Linked DNA regions of Homo sapiens: all the other regions are linked to region 2. The links are contacts of gene promoters, found by promoter capture Hi-C in blood cells and fetal thymus (Javierre and others, 2016). All regions are on one chromosome and are shown on one strand. Each heading gives the region's core, a stretch centred on a gene start or on the middle of the fragment in contact. The rest is flanking DNA. Distances are from core to core; before and after follow the strand shown. Region 1 overlaps COL22A1 (collagen type XXII alpha 1 chain). Region 2 holds the start of KHDRBS3 (KH RNA binding domain containing, signal transduction associated 3). Region 3 holds the start of EFR3A (EFR3 homolog A).

Region 1 (4,431 bases), core at 1,902-4,401, 3.2 Mb after region 2:
GCTTAGCAAGCACTGAGTATTTGAGCTTCTTTTAAACAATAGCAAGACAGGGCTTTTAAGGACAAAGTAAATGCACTTTTAAGGTGCATTAAGAGGGTATGATGTCTTTATCAAAGAACGGACTAAACAGAAGAATAGGCTTCAAGGTTGTAAACTGGTCTTATGTCCCAAAAACTATCATTCAGTAAAGAAGGAAAGAAAATATGTGTTCTTTGTGGTACAAAAGGGAGAATTAAAAGCAGTGGGTGGAAACTACAGGATACCATAATGTTATTCTCAATGAAAACAAAATTCTACTGAATTTCCATTATCTATGGAAATATATTTTTAAACTGCAGAGCCAGATGTACTGGCTTTGAAAGAAGTGTGCCTTCTATTTCTAGAGGCATTCAGGTGGAGGCCGAAGATATTGATAGCAATCCTCAACCTGAACGGGAACACACTTCATTGATTCTTAAGATCCCTATAACTCAAAGTTTTAGCAACTCTTAAAGCTATCACCCCTAGTGAGTTTGTAAACTAACACCTAGTAGACTGATGTGAATTATTCATTAGAACTAGCGGTGGCTCACGTCTGTAATCCCAGCACTTTAGGAGGTTGAGGTGGGTGGATCACAAGGTCAGGAGTTCAAGACGAGCCTGGCCAACACAGTGAAACCCCATCTCTACTAAAAATACAAAAAATTAGCCAGGCGTGGTGGCAGGCACCTGTAATCTCCGTTACTCGGGAGGCTGAGGCAGGAGAATCACTTGAACCTGGGAGGCGGAGGTTGCAGTGAGCTGAGATTGCACCACTGCACTCCAGCCTGGGCAACACTGCGAGACTCCATCTCAAAAAAAAAAAGAAAGAAAAAGAAAGAAAGAAAGAAAGAAAGAAAGAAAGAAAGAAAGAAAGGAAGAAAGAAAGAAAGAAAAGAGTGTTTCTGCAGGCAGGTCCAACAGGAAATGGCTGTATGTCCTGAAAGCAAGTAAGAGCTGGATAAATAAAGACTTACAGGAGGGCCAGCAACCCCAATGCCTGGGTCACCACGGCTGCCAGGAGAACCAGGGATCCCAGGAGCTCCTCGATCCCCCTAGAAAGAGAGAAAAATAAGATCAAGGAGGTCAGTGCCAGGAAGGAGAGGGCTAGGGTACAAAATGAATCATGCTTCTTCTAGAATCCTGACTGCAGGCTTCTCCTGCCACCTGGCCTCCATGGGCCATGCTATAGTCTACCCAGGCAGCCCATCATCCCACTCAGCCCAATATTCAGGGACCACAGCCACCAACTCAGATTATATACCTTTCAAGGACGACCACTCCCGGACCAACCTTGACCATGGCTCTAAATGTGATTATAACACTATGGCCCTCCCCATGTGAGCATTGTCCAAATCTACCATGCTTTCTTCAAACCACATCAGACCCTCATCCTAACTATACCCCAGATTTGCGCATGCACCCACATTTCAATTTAGATCCCAAATCACCCATAAATTAATTTATCAATTCACCAATAATTTGCCAAGTACCTACATTTTGCACATCATCCTTCTGGATGTGGGAGGAGGAGCCTAAAGGGGACCGAGATAAGACCTTTGCCTTCAAGCATAGTTAACAGTGTGGACGTGGGTGTCAGAGGCCTGGATTTAAGTTCTGGTTTCAACACCTATTAACTGTTAACTTAGGAAAGTGATGAGTTCCTATGCTCTAGTTTCCTCACCTACAAGGGGAACAGGACAGGAGCTGCCAGGTCTGCAGATGTTGTGCTCACTCTATGAGATTATGCAGAGAGAGTGCTTGGCACAGAGCCCAGCACAGCACTGAACCTGAGCTAGGAGTTGTGTTTGCTTCTGTTCTCGTTGTACTGCCATGCTGGACTTTGATGGAAAAGGAAAAAGGAGGGAGAAATTGAAAAAGGGAAGAAATTTTGTTTGCCATTTCCTGGAGAACATGGCCAAGGCCGAGCCACGCCTTATTCGTAATTTCAAAATCCTCAGCCCTTAAAAACAAGTGTTGATCTCAACTCAGTTGGCAGCAAAACCTGACTTGTGCTATTTGCAGTCTTTGGTTATTCCATTGTGTGTTGAAAATTTACATATTTTTGTCGCCTAAGGATTAATGTGCTTGATTAGGGGTGTTGCCCCAGATACTATCATAAATGTCATTATGTGTATATTTTGCATATTACCTTTCCAAAATCGAAATTGAATTTGGCCCAAAACAGACATGGCCCCAACAGTTTTGTGTAGGAGGCCATGATCCTGAGCTTATTCAGCCAGCTGAACCACAGTCAAGCTTGAGGCCAAGACGGCAGGTGATCTTGCTCAAGCCACTTAATACCTCTGGAATGAGTTAACTCGTATGACAAACGGAAACAGCCTCAGAAGCTTGTTATGAAGAGCCAATGAGATAATGTTGCAGCTAATTAAGGTAGAACTCGATATTGCTAGGTAATTTGTTGCTTTATTAAGGTTTAGGTTATTGTGCATTACAAAATATCTCATTCATGGCTCTAAGATGACTTGCCTTTCCTATAGTACAACCGTTGCCTGGATGAGTACATAAGCTATGTATTCATTCAACTAATGCTTATTCATTCACTGCAAACCATATTCTAGATTCCAAGCCCAGAAGATTACTCAGTGCCCATTGTCAATACTCAGTGCTAAGTTCAGAAGAGAAGGGATGTTCATGGGGATATGAAGGAACAGACCTTGCGAAGTTCTCACAAAAGACACAAACCAAGACCTAAATCTCTCACTAGGTCTCCTTGACATCATTTCTTCCCCTGGTCCCTCTGGGCCTCTGAGTCACACTACCTGCTGTTTCTGGGTCCCTAGGAGTCAGCAACATCCCTTGCCCTGCCCTCATCTCTGCCAGCAGTTCCCTCCTCAAATTTTCTGTAAATTCTCAATTAGTATAATCTGTTTCTTTAGAATAATATGATATGAATGGTTCTTGGAAGTTCAAGATACTTCGGATCCCTAGAAAATCTAACTAGTTTCTATGGGGTGGTTGGGGAATAGAGGGAGTAAAAAAAAAATAAGACAAATATGGAAACAAGTGTCATGAACCAAGAATGACCATCATGACATGTGATTTATCTGTCACCAGTTCATTGTAGCAATGGAGAGGGGCATGTAGGAAGATTTCAAGCTGGTAGTCAGGTGATTCTAGGTCCAGTCTCAGGACCAAATCAACCTCATCCTGTGACCTTCGGTAAGTCCCACAACCTCTCTGCATCACTGGGTCCTCATCAATTAAAAAAAAAGTTCTACCAAATCCTCATGTATCTTATGAAGACATTTAAAAACAACTATATAAGGTTGAGAAATACATTGTATATTATGGTTGCATTATTATCACTTATTTATTATTTCTTTATTTTTGAGACAAGGTCTTGCTCTGTCACCCAGGCTGGAGTACAGTGGTGTAATCATGGCTCACTGCAGCTTTGACCTCTCAAGTTCAAGCAATCCTCCTGCCTCAGCCTCCCTCCATAGCTGGGACTACAGATGTGAACCACCACACCTGCCTAATTTTTGACATTTTTTATAGGGATAGGGTCTCATTATGTTATCTAGGCTAGTCTCGAACTTCTGAACTCAAACAGTCCTCCCTCTATTATTACCTTATATGCAGAGGTAGAAGATAGAAAGTGAACTAAACACATATAAATGTCAGATAAATCTATATTTCTTTGCACTTTGGTTTTGCTTTAAAAATCTTAATGCAGATTTTCCTGTTATTCTTATTTTCTGTTTTAGTTTGAAACAGAAACTGTCCCTTTCCTGTCCCAAGGCCATGGTCCATGTACATCAGCAAACCATGACCATTGCAAGCTAAGTCATGTCAACAACCTAGTTTGTATGCTTCCATGGTATTTGTTTGCTCTTCTGTTTTGTATACATGCTATTTCCCCTTGTCTGGGATCTTCTTCCATCCATGTTCTAAGCTTCCAAAGCCTACTTATCAACTAAGACTCAGTCCCATTATTTTGTTGTTATAAAGCTGCCTCTGCCTGTCTTGTCCTTCTGTCTTTTTGCAAATGTTTGCATAGATCTTCACTGACCTTAACACATTGCCCTCCCAGTGCACAGTTTTCTGACCCTCTGACTTTTCCGCAAGCAGCCTGAAAGTAGAAAATCTTCACTCATTTCTTCACCAAACAAATGTTTACCAAGCACCTAAAATAATTCAGCCCCTCTGTTAGGTACTGGATCTATGCATCTCTGTATCCACAGTGTCCAGATTAGGGTCTGGCACAGGTGGCAGCTAATAACCATTTCCTGGATGCAGGAACAAAAGAATCCTCCATCCATCATTCTGTGTCAGGCATTGAGATCTGCCTTTGACCAAAATAAACTTTTTCAGAGGAGGCAGCATGACAGAAAGGCCTCTCCCAGCCCAGTCTGGAAGCGTGGAGTCACTGACTGCTTTCTGCTACAC
Region 2 (4,286 bases), core at 630-3,129:
CCCAGGTCAGAAACAGAGGTGCGACAGTCACAGGTCCTTCACTCAGTTGGCCAGGCCGGGGCGAAGCACCACGACCAGCAGTGAGGAGTCCACAGATGGGTGTCTGCCCAGCATCCCTGGAGTTACAGCTGAAGGGAAGGCGAGGGAGGCTCAGAAGGCCCAGAGGACAGCCTTGCAGCCGGAAAAAACCCAAAGCAAAGATCAGCTCAGCATTTCCGATAGGCAGAGTGCTGTTTTGGGTATTTCATTATGAGTTAACATATTTATTCTCATGAACTTCTTATGAAATAAGTTTGGTTGTCATCTCCACTTGACGGATGAGGACCCTGAGGTGAAGAAACTTGCCCAAGGTCACAGCTAGTGAGCAGCAGATCCATGATTCCAAATCCAGGCTGTTTAACCCCAGAGGCTTTGCTTTTAACTGTGCCATTTTTCTGCTTCTTGCAAGTTGAGACTGAAGAGAGCCATGAAGAAGACTCTTACTGGGGACTCTGAAATGACACCTTAGCCGGGGGAGGAGTGGAGCCTTGAGAGTGAGGGCAGTTGAGTACTCGGGTCTGGGACTTAGAGCTTCCAAGATTTCTACCACCTCCCACTCCCCTCGGGTTTGTAAAGCTGCCTCCATTTGCATTGGGAGTGCGGGGGGGCTGCCTGGGGGACTGTGGCGATTGTCCTCAGGCTATTGGCTGAGAGTGGTATGCCACTGACTTATTCCTCCAAGAGACATTTCCAGTACCCTCCATCCCTGCCCCCTGTACTACACACTGGTGACCTTCCCCCTCAAAAACAAAACTCAAACTCTGTCCCTGATGCTCATGGTCTACTGAAAACAGAATTACAGCTGTCTGTGAATGACCTCTGACCAAGCTGGGGGGACACAGAGAAGGGACTTGTGACTTGCTTTGCCAGGGAGGTCCTGAGAGGCTGTCCAGGGAAGGTGACATTGAGGCCGGGACTTGAGCTGGCTGTTTGAAGGCAGGAAAAATGGCAGGGCAAGGACTGGAGTCCTTCGCCTTCCTGGGGGACGTTTATTCCACATGCCTCGGGAAATCTGAAATGGCCTTGGAGAGCATTTGCTGGGGGTTGGGGGTGGGCGGAAGGGGACAGAGAGCATTGCCACCGACAGGCGGGGCGTCCCAGGGCCTCTCCCCAGGAGCGGATGAGCTCAGACGCGGCTCACTCAGCTGTGTCCAGGCACAGCCGGTTTATGACCTAAGAGAATGACAACCCAGGAGCAAGTCGGGATGACAAAGACGCCCAGAAGGGCACGCGCTTTTATGTAACCGACCTCTGAGCTGGCGGATCTCAGGAGGTTGGCGCTCTGAGCTCAGGCGCGGAGAAAGGACGGCGCCCCTGCCTTACTCTCTTATAAGTACGAGGGGACAGCAACGCGACATAACTTAGAGAAGTCCAGGAAGCTTTAGAGAGCAGGGCGGTCCCGCTGCTATTCCTCAGAGCGCGACTGGGGCGAACTGGGGCGCCCTTCCCAGCTCCAGCTCGGCCCTTGTCCCCTCTTCCCAGGATCACTCGCTGGGTGACCTTGGGCGAGCCACTTGACTTCTCTGAGCCCCAGTTTCCCAGTCCGTGCATCTGAAAGGCTGTAATAGCGTCGTGGGGCTCCCCACTCGGCCCTCAGGGCCAAAGGTGGGCGCCGGACACGCGGGAGGGGCCCTTGGACGCACCCCCTCTCGCAAACGCCCGGTTAGTCCCGGCGGACTCGCAGTGGAGAGCGGCCCCAGGAGGCGGCGGGCGGCGGGGCGGTGGGCGCCAGTGCGCAGGCGCGGCGCGGCAGGGCGGGGCGGCGGGCGCGGGGCGGGGCGGGGCGGAGCCGGGCGGGGCGGGGCCGGCGGCAGGCGCTGGGCGCTCGGCGCGGTGGCTCAGAGTGCGCGGGGCGGCGCGCGGCGTGCAGGTCGCAGCTGTGGCTCGGGTGCTGGCAGGTGCTGGCGGGACTGGCGGGGATCGCCGTGGACTGCCTCAGGGGCGCCGCAGCCCGCTCGGCCCGAGGGCCCGCCTAACCGCGCCGCCCGCGCCCGCTCCTCCTCGGCCCGCGCCCGGAGCGCGGGGGCCGCCGGCGCTGGGTACTCGGCGGCCACCGGGGATCGGGGCTGAGCGGTCGGTTCCCGCCCCCGTGCCGCCGCCGCCGCCTTCCGGCCGACCGCCCGGCTTGGCCGCTGCTGCCGCGTCTGGCCCCCGGGTCCCCGCCGCTGGGGGCGCGGGCGGGGTCGGGGGTTGCCGGGCGCCGCCCCCCGTGCGCCTGGAGTCCACATCCCGGGCCCGGCGGCCGGCGAGCATGGAGGAGAAGTACCTGCCCGAGCTGATGGCGGAGAAGGACTCCCTGGACCCCTCCTTCACGCACGCCCTGCGCCTGGTGAACCAAGGTGAGGCGCCGGCCGTTAACTGCCGGCCGGCGGCGGTTGGGGGCCGGGTGGAAACGCGGGGGCCCAGGGGGCCCCTCCGTGCCCTCTGCTGTCAGCGGACGCGGCGGAGACGGAGGCCCGGGTGGCCCCCGGGGTCGTTTGCACGGGGACCTGGGAGGCTGTGGGACACCTAGGGGAAGACCCTGATGTGAATTTTGGGGACTTGGAAGGAGAAGGCTGGGGCGCATGGGTGAGACTTGAAGGAAATCTTTGGGGACTCGGGCACACCCAGGGGAAACTTCTGGGTGGGGGACAGCGACCATCTGGGGGCTTCGTTGGGAACGAGGTTGAATTATGTCATGGAAGGGGAGCGTGTTGGACTCGGGGAAGTAGGGCGTTTGGTTTGTCTAAGGTACTGGAGAAAAAGCTGGAGGAAAATGGAAGGACTTGAGGGACTCAAATGCAGAAGAGGTGAAGGGAACAGGTGCTTGCATTGTTAGCGAAGTTTGGGGACCTTGGAAGAGGGTTGGGGTCAGACCCCAGCACCTGAGAGGAGAGGAGCTCCGTGGTCCCAGGGGAGGAGCCCAGTTCCCCCTCCCAGCCCTTTGTCTCTCCTGTGTCCAGGCTCCAACAGCCCTGGCGGGGCAGTCAGCCCTCCCAGGGGATGGGCAGCCCATGCCAAGCCTTGCAGGCTGGCCCTTGGAGAAGTCAGTAGGGGAGAAGAGGCCGGCAAAAGAGCACCGTTCCGGAGGGCGTTGGGTTGGGTGACCCTCATTGGTGGCTGGCTTGAGGTTCGGAATAGTGGTGAAGGGAGTCCTTGCCATTTTCACACGACTCCAGCCAGCTCAGGGTGTGAAAGATCCTAGGAAGTACTGCGGGTCAGGGATACAGAGATTTCTGGAGGCACGCCTACCCGGGACAGTGTTCCCCTGGCTTTTTCCTCCTGTGGCTTCCTGAATCATCTGCTGGCATGCACGGTAAATTAAGCCTTCCTTCCTGGGAGCAGTCTCCTACTTTTCCTGGAATATGTGTTTCAGATGAAGATGGGTGTGGGTGCCACTGGTCTGTCTTTTCTCTGGGAAATGGCAGCAACATGATCTGGTCAGATCTGTTACCTTTTGCAGGAATTACTGTGCACTGACAGTCTGTGGTTCCCTAGATGAATCGGATCTGCTGCTCTTAGTGCTCGCCCTGGCTTTTTTATTGTTGGAAGTGAAAGATGAGGCAGACATATTCTATTTGTATATAGATACCTATATTTTAAAACAGTGACCTCCAGTTTTTGCCTGTTTCAACCAGTTCTTCAGAGTAGAGTGTGTGTGTGGTTGACCGATGGTGGAGGAGAGACTCTTTACTGTCTCCAAGAATTTAAGAATATTTGAATTGTTGAACAGAAATAGACTTATGGAGCTCCCTCATTTTATTTTAATTGCAGGCTTATTTTTATTTCTTTAATAAAATGGGCTTGTGAAAAAGTGAATGGGCATGCATTCCTAAATAAAAGAAAAAAAATTAAGTTTTATTTCTATGCCCTCTGAACAGTTCTGCAGTTGAGTTTGTACTCCTGTGCCTGATGATTTACATGTATCTTTTATTGCCTGCTGGGCTGTCATCTCTGTGAAAGAAATTTCTTCATACATTGCATGAGATCCGTGGCATTGGAAATATTCTGGACTGTGGACTCAAGTGCATTTTTCCTAATAAAGTAGCTGAATCAAAGTTAGGTTGTACTCAATTAAGGAACAGTTAAACTGAAAGTACAGTGCGTTATCTTATTTTAAAAGTCAGAATTATTTTCTCTGCCGTGTTGCCATAGTATTGTGTTGCTAAAACGTCCAAAATTCTTTTGGATTCTGTGTTTTTACCAGTGTTAATGGCTTCCAGTTACTTGAAACAGATATTTACTGGGGAAATGTTGCCATTTAGTGT
Region 3 (4,478 bases), core at 1,361-3,860, 3.6 Mb before region 2:
CCTGACATTCAGCTGTCCTTCCTCAGAATCTTTGGCTGCTGATTTTTATTTCTGGCAACAATACAAAACCAAAAGACCAAGAGGATTAAAAACAGAAAGAAATGAAAAACAAACAAACAAAAAAACAACCAGTATGTGCAGGACAATTTCAGGGCCTTTGGGATCTGCATCTTTTTCAAGGTAATGTAAGCAGAGATGTCTGCCTTTTGGAGTCATGTCTTCCCTTGGCTCCTGGGGCACTGTATCCTGTGGATCTCGTCTCTCTGTGCCTTCACTGCCTCCACATCTTCCCTAAAAGGGCTCTCTTTGACACCCAGCTTCAGCTCCTGTCCCGGGACCAAAGATTTCCAAATCTCCCACCCTGAGGTCCCTCAGCCCACCTTCATCCTGGCTTGCCCAGCTGCCTTCAGATTCATTCACTCGGATGTCTCCCTCTGATACCACCTCAAGCTCAATATGTCAAGGAGAAACTCACACCTTTCTTCACACCCCTTCCCTAAAACAGCATTTCTTCCTGACTGGTCTACTGCTCTCCAGCACCACCACTTTCCTTGTTCCAACCTTGGAGTTACATAACTAACAGATGCCTCTCTATTGCTCCCAAGTCAGCAGCCAACAAATCCAGGGATTCTTTTCCAAAGTAAGATTCAGTTCTTTCTTTTTCCACAGCCACCACCAAGACTGAGCACCTAACACTCTCTCCTGTATTGGGGCCTTCCGATTTGGCTGCCTACCTCCACAGTTTCTCTGCCACACCATTCCCCCTGCAAGGCCCTGCTTCTGATAATTTAATGTTACTGTTATGCTTTTTGTAAAAATCACAGAACAGTTTCTTAAAAGACAAATTCCAAGGTTGAATGTAAAGTTGTTTATCAGTTTTATTTACCTGTTTTTGTTTTCATACTCTTGAATAAAATCCTTTATTTATATATTGAATTAATATACTCTGGCCCCCACCTGTGTGCCAGCCAAGGATACATAAACATGAACAGAATATGGCTTTTGCCATTTTCTGAAAAGCAAATAGGCCCATGGTAAAACACAAGCACTCATGACAGTTTATTTAGGATGCAGTGAGAAAAGTGCTGTAGCAGAGAGGAATCAAGATAATGCCAAAGTCTTAGGGAGAAAACTGGAAGCATGAAAGATTTTATAGGTGATAAAATATGCAACAGGGCATTAAAACATGAATAAGCACTAGGTAGTTTGGTCTTTACTGTTAGCAAGGGACAGTCTCTCTTTTTTTTTTTTTTTTTTTGAGATGGAGTCTTGCTCTGTAGCCCAGGCTAGAGTCCAGTGGCCCGATCTCGGCTCACTGCAAACTCCGTCTCCTGGGTTCAAGCGATTCTCCTTCCTCAGCTTCCCAAGTAGCTGAGTGAGAATATAGGCATGTGCCACCACCCCCGCCTAATTTTTGCATTTTCAGTACAGACAGGGTTTCGCCATGTTGGCCAGGCTGATCTCGAACTCCTGACCTCAGGTGATCTGCCCACCGCCCACCTCGGTCTCCCAAAGTGTTAGGATTACAGGCGTGAGCCACCGTTCCCAGCTGGACAGTCTCTTTTATAGGTACAGTACACACTCTCCTCTCCCCAGCTGCCATGACTCACTCTAAATTACCCTTCATCCTCTCCCCAGCCTCTTTTAGGACTCCCCTAGGCTTTGCTAATTCAAATTCTGCTTTCTTCCAAGTCCACCTCAAGCCAAGACTAATTTCTCCTCAGCGCTTCCTAGCTCTGATCTTCATGTTCTTCATCTTCTCCTCCCAGTACTGCACAATATCATTTCTTAATCAGAAGGTTAGCCCTACTTTTTAGGACAAAGGTTCTCAGTATTATCATTGTATTTAAATCATCTGTATATGTGTTCGTAGATTTGGCTCAGCACCTAGGAATCTGCTTTTCAACAAGTCCCCAGGGGATCCAAGCACAAAAGGATCCTGGACCACTTTGACCCACTTTGAGGAAGGCTGTGTTAAACCTCTGCGGTTGGCTTTTATATCTCCATATGGGCTGTCCGCAGCCCACGGCGCCTAGCATAGTGTAGGTGCGTTGCTCAGCTCTCTGGCTCCCGGTGTCTGCTCAGCTTGGTGACTATTAGATACCTCAATTATTAATGACACCCAGAGTCAAGAAGAGTAGCTCAGCCAAGTGCACAGAGCTGCCCTCTCCAGAGGAGACTAACTCCTGAGGGATAAGGTCGCTCTGAAAGTCACAAGAGCAAAAGGAAATTACATTTTCTGCCCTCTCAAAAAATGAGCAGCCATCACCCCAAATGACCTTAGTGCATCTCAAATAAACCATGCTTTCAGAGTATGCAAAACGCACTGCAAGTTAAACCGATTGCAAAAGAAAAAGCCCACAGGTACTCCGTGCGCTCAAAGCCATCATCCTCACAAACGTAAAGTGATGCACTCCAAATAGAGATCAAGGAAAACGAATGCCACGCAGGTCACCAGGCTTGGAAAATAGAAGGCACCCGAAGTTGTTCTACGTGGCTGTCCCCAGCCACCCATTCCACCCGCTCGACAAGGGATCCTGGGCCGAGCCCGGCCATCCGCGGGGGCGGGGCCGGGACGGCGGCGGCGCGCTGACGTAACGGGCGTGGGTCGTCCGTCGCGCCGCCCGGCGAGGAGTGGGCTGGCGGCGGTAGCTGTCGCCCGCTTGGTTGCGTGACCGCGGGGTCCGCGTCCGCTCCCTCCACCCTTCGCCCTTCGCCCTTCGCCTCGTTCCGGCCTCCGCGGCCCAGCAACGGCCGTCATGGTGCCGTCGGCGCTCCCTGCGCGGCCCCGCTGAGCCTCGGTGCGGCGGCGAGCGCGGTCGAGATCGCCATGCCTACCCGTGAGTGGCCGGCCGAGGGCCGGGGGCGTTGGGAGGCGACTGCCTGCGCGACGCGCTTGGGCCGGGTACTCCTCCCGGGCGGCTGGGGAGGCTGGGCCGCGCTGAGCAGAGCCAGGAAGTGTCTGCGAGCGGCGGAGTTAGTTTCGTTTCGGCTTAGCCTTCCGGAGATGGCGTGAGCCCGTTGCACGGATCGGGAAACTGAGGCCCGAACGTTAAGGGAACTGCGGGGACGCGCTGTTAGGAGGCGGCAGAGCTGGTGGTAACCTGACCCGTGGGATTTCAAAGTTAAAGCCCTTTTCCCACGGCCACACGGCTTCGTGGGACTTTATGGAAATATTGAAAATAACTGCGGTACCATTGTCAGTCCCTTCTCACCTCGGGCCGGACGTCGCTAGTGGACGCGCCGGCCCCGAGTCCCTTCCCGCGGCCGCCAGACAGACCCCCGACAGCCTAACTCGGCGTCCGTATCGCCGTCGGGGCGGCTGAAGTCGGAGCTTTCTGTGGAGCTTGTTAGGCAGAGGCACCTCGACTGTGGCTTTTGGACCACACTTCGGATTCACCCGGGCAGATGATTAAAAATGCCGGTTTCGGGACCCGCCCTATTCCCATGGAATTAGTCTGGAGCTTGGGCCCCGGAGTCTGCATGTCTAATAAGCGTCCCTGGGGTTACCAAGGCACCCCAAAGTTTAAAAGTCACTCGGTGTTGGAGGATTTTTAGACAGACGCGATACTACAAGTACTGCTAATGACCTATTTTAAAATGACCCAGATAATCGCAGTGTGACTTTATAGCCACTGGTCAATGTGGATATGTGCAAACTAGGGAAGCTCCTGATCTTGGGTAGAGAGGAAGCAACTTTGTCATTGATTTGAGAATTCAAGTAGGACTCCTTTGACTAAGTGTTCAATACTATAGAATCTTTACACACTTGTGAATATATTTCCTAGAATTCATAACTACTTCTAGTTGTCCTTGTTTTGTAGCCATCTGGGACGCTGAATTTCCAGGTCAGTCTCCAATGCACGTTTCGTCTAGTGGTGGGAAAAGATGAGTTATTTCTTGATATTATAAAGATTGATATTTTCCTGATATTTAAGGATATTAAATTTAAATTGATATTAAAGATATTTAAATATCTTTTTGAGATTTAAAGATTTTCCTGTGGCAAATCTTTACATAGTCCTGATGTAGAGATTACTTTTAACTCCTCATACATGTGTGGGTACTGTGGATTTTGTTTTCTTCACACACTACTGTGTGTCCTTAACTCACGTTCTTGGACTTCGCATCCAGTAAATATGTCCAGTTTAAATTTCTGTTTTATTCCTTTTGGCTGGAGGAATATCATTTACAATCATCTTCATTGTTATTGCCAGTTTAGTACTTCTAAATTCATGTTCACGTTATTCAGTGAATATCTGAGACTAGCACTATGCTAATCTTTTATTTTCTGAGAAACCAAAGGGGAGGAGGTAAGCACCTATTGAAAGTTGAGGCTTCAAGTAGAATTTATTGGTAACATGCCAGAATTATCCTGTGAAATAAAATTTTTAGTTATGTTCTAGGGTTATCTAGCTTCACAGAGTGGATATAGTAAACTCGTTTCTTTTCAAATGTTGAGTTCATTCTGCAAAATG

Evidence for each region. Contacts are between HindIII fragments. The CHiCAGO score rates a contact against its expected background, and 5 or more counts as called.
Region 1: a contact is called between a fragment that was not itself captured here and the fragment with the promoter of KHDRBS3 in region 2, in 1 of 17 cell types (neutrophils). The highest score is 6.1, in neutrophils.
Region 3: the fragment with the promoter of EFR3A here is called in contact with the fragment with the promoter of KHDRBS3 in region 2 in 1 of 17 cell types (fetal thymus); the score reaches 6.6 in fetal thymus.

The regions. Positions count from the first base shown.
Region 1 is chr8:138,675,563-138,679,993 of GRCh38, forward strand. COL22A1 (collagen type XXII alpha 1 chain) reads right to left here. Exons shown (of 65, transcript NM_152888.3): 40 at 4,055-4,114; 41 at 996-1,073. Among named protein-coding and RNA genes, the nearest start is that of FAM135B, 180 kb to the left of the region's middle. The HindIII fragment of the contact is 1,568 bases long and covers 2,368-3,935 here.
Region 2 is chr8:135,455,577-135,459,862 of GRCh38, forward strand. It overlaps KHDRBS3 (KH RNA binding domain containing, signal transduction associated 3), which reads left to right and starts at 1,880. Exons shown (of 9, transcript NM_006558.3): 1 at 1,880-2,378. The coding sequence starts at 2,291. LOC101927872 (a long non-coding RNA gene) reads right to left here and starts at 2,399. Exons shown (of 4, transcript XR_002956731.2): 1 at 2,306-2,399. RefSeq lists a silencer at 1,752-2,051. The HindIII fragment of the contact is 3,136 bases long and covers 1,417-4,286 here.
Region 3 is chr8:131,901,483-131,905,960 of GRCh38, forward strand. EFR3A (EFR3 homolog A) reads left to right here and starts at 2,611. Exons shown (of 23, transcript NM_015137.6): 1 at 2,611-2,840. The coding sequence starts at 2,831. RefSeq lists a silencer at 2,508-2,987 and an enhancer at 3,558-3,607. The HindIII fragment of the contact is 8,534 bases long and covers 1-4,478 here.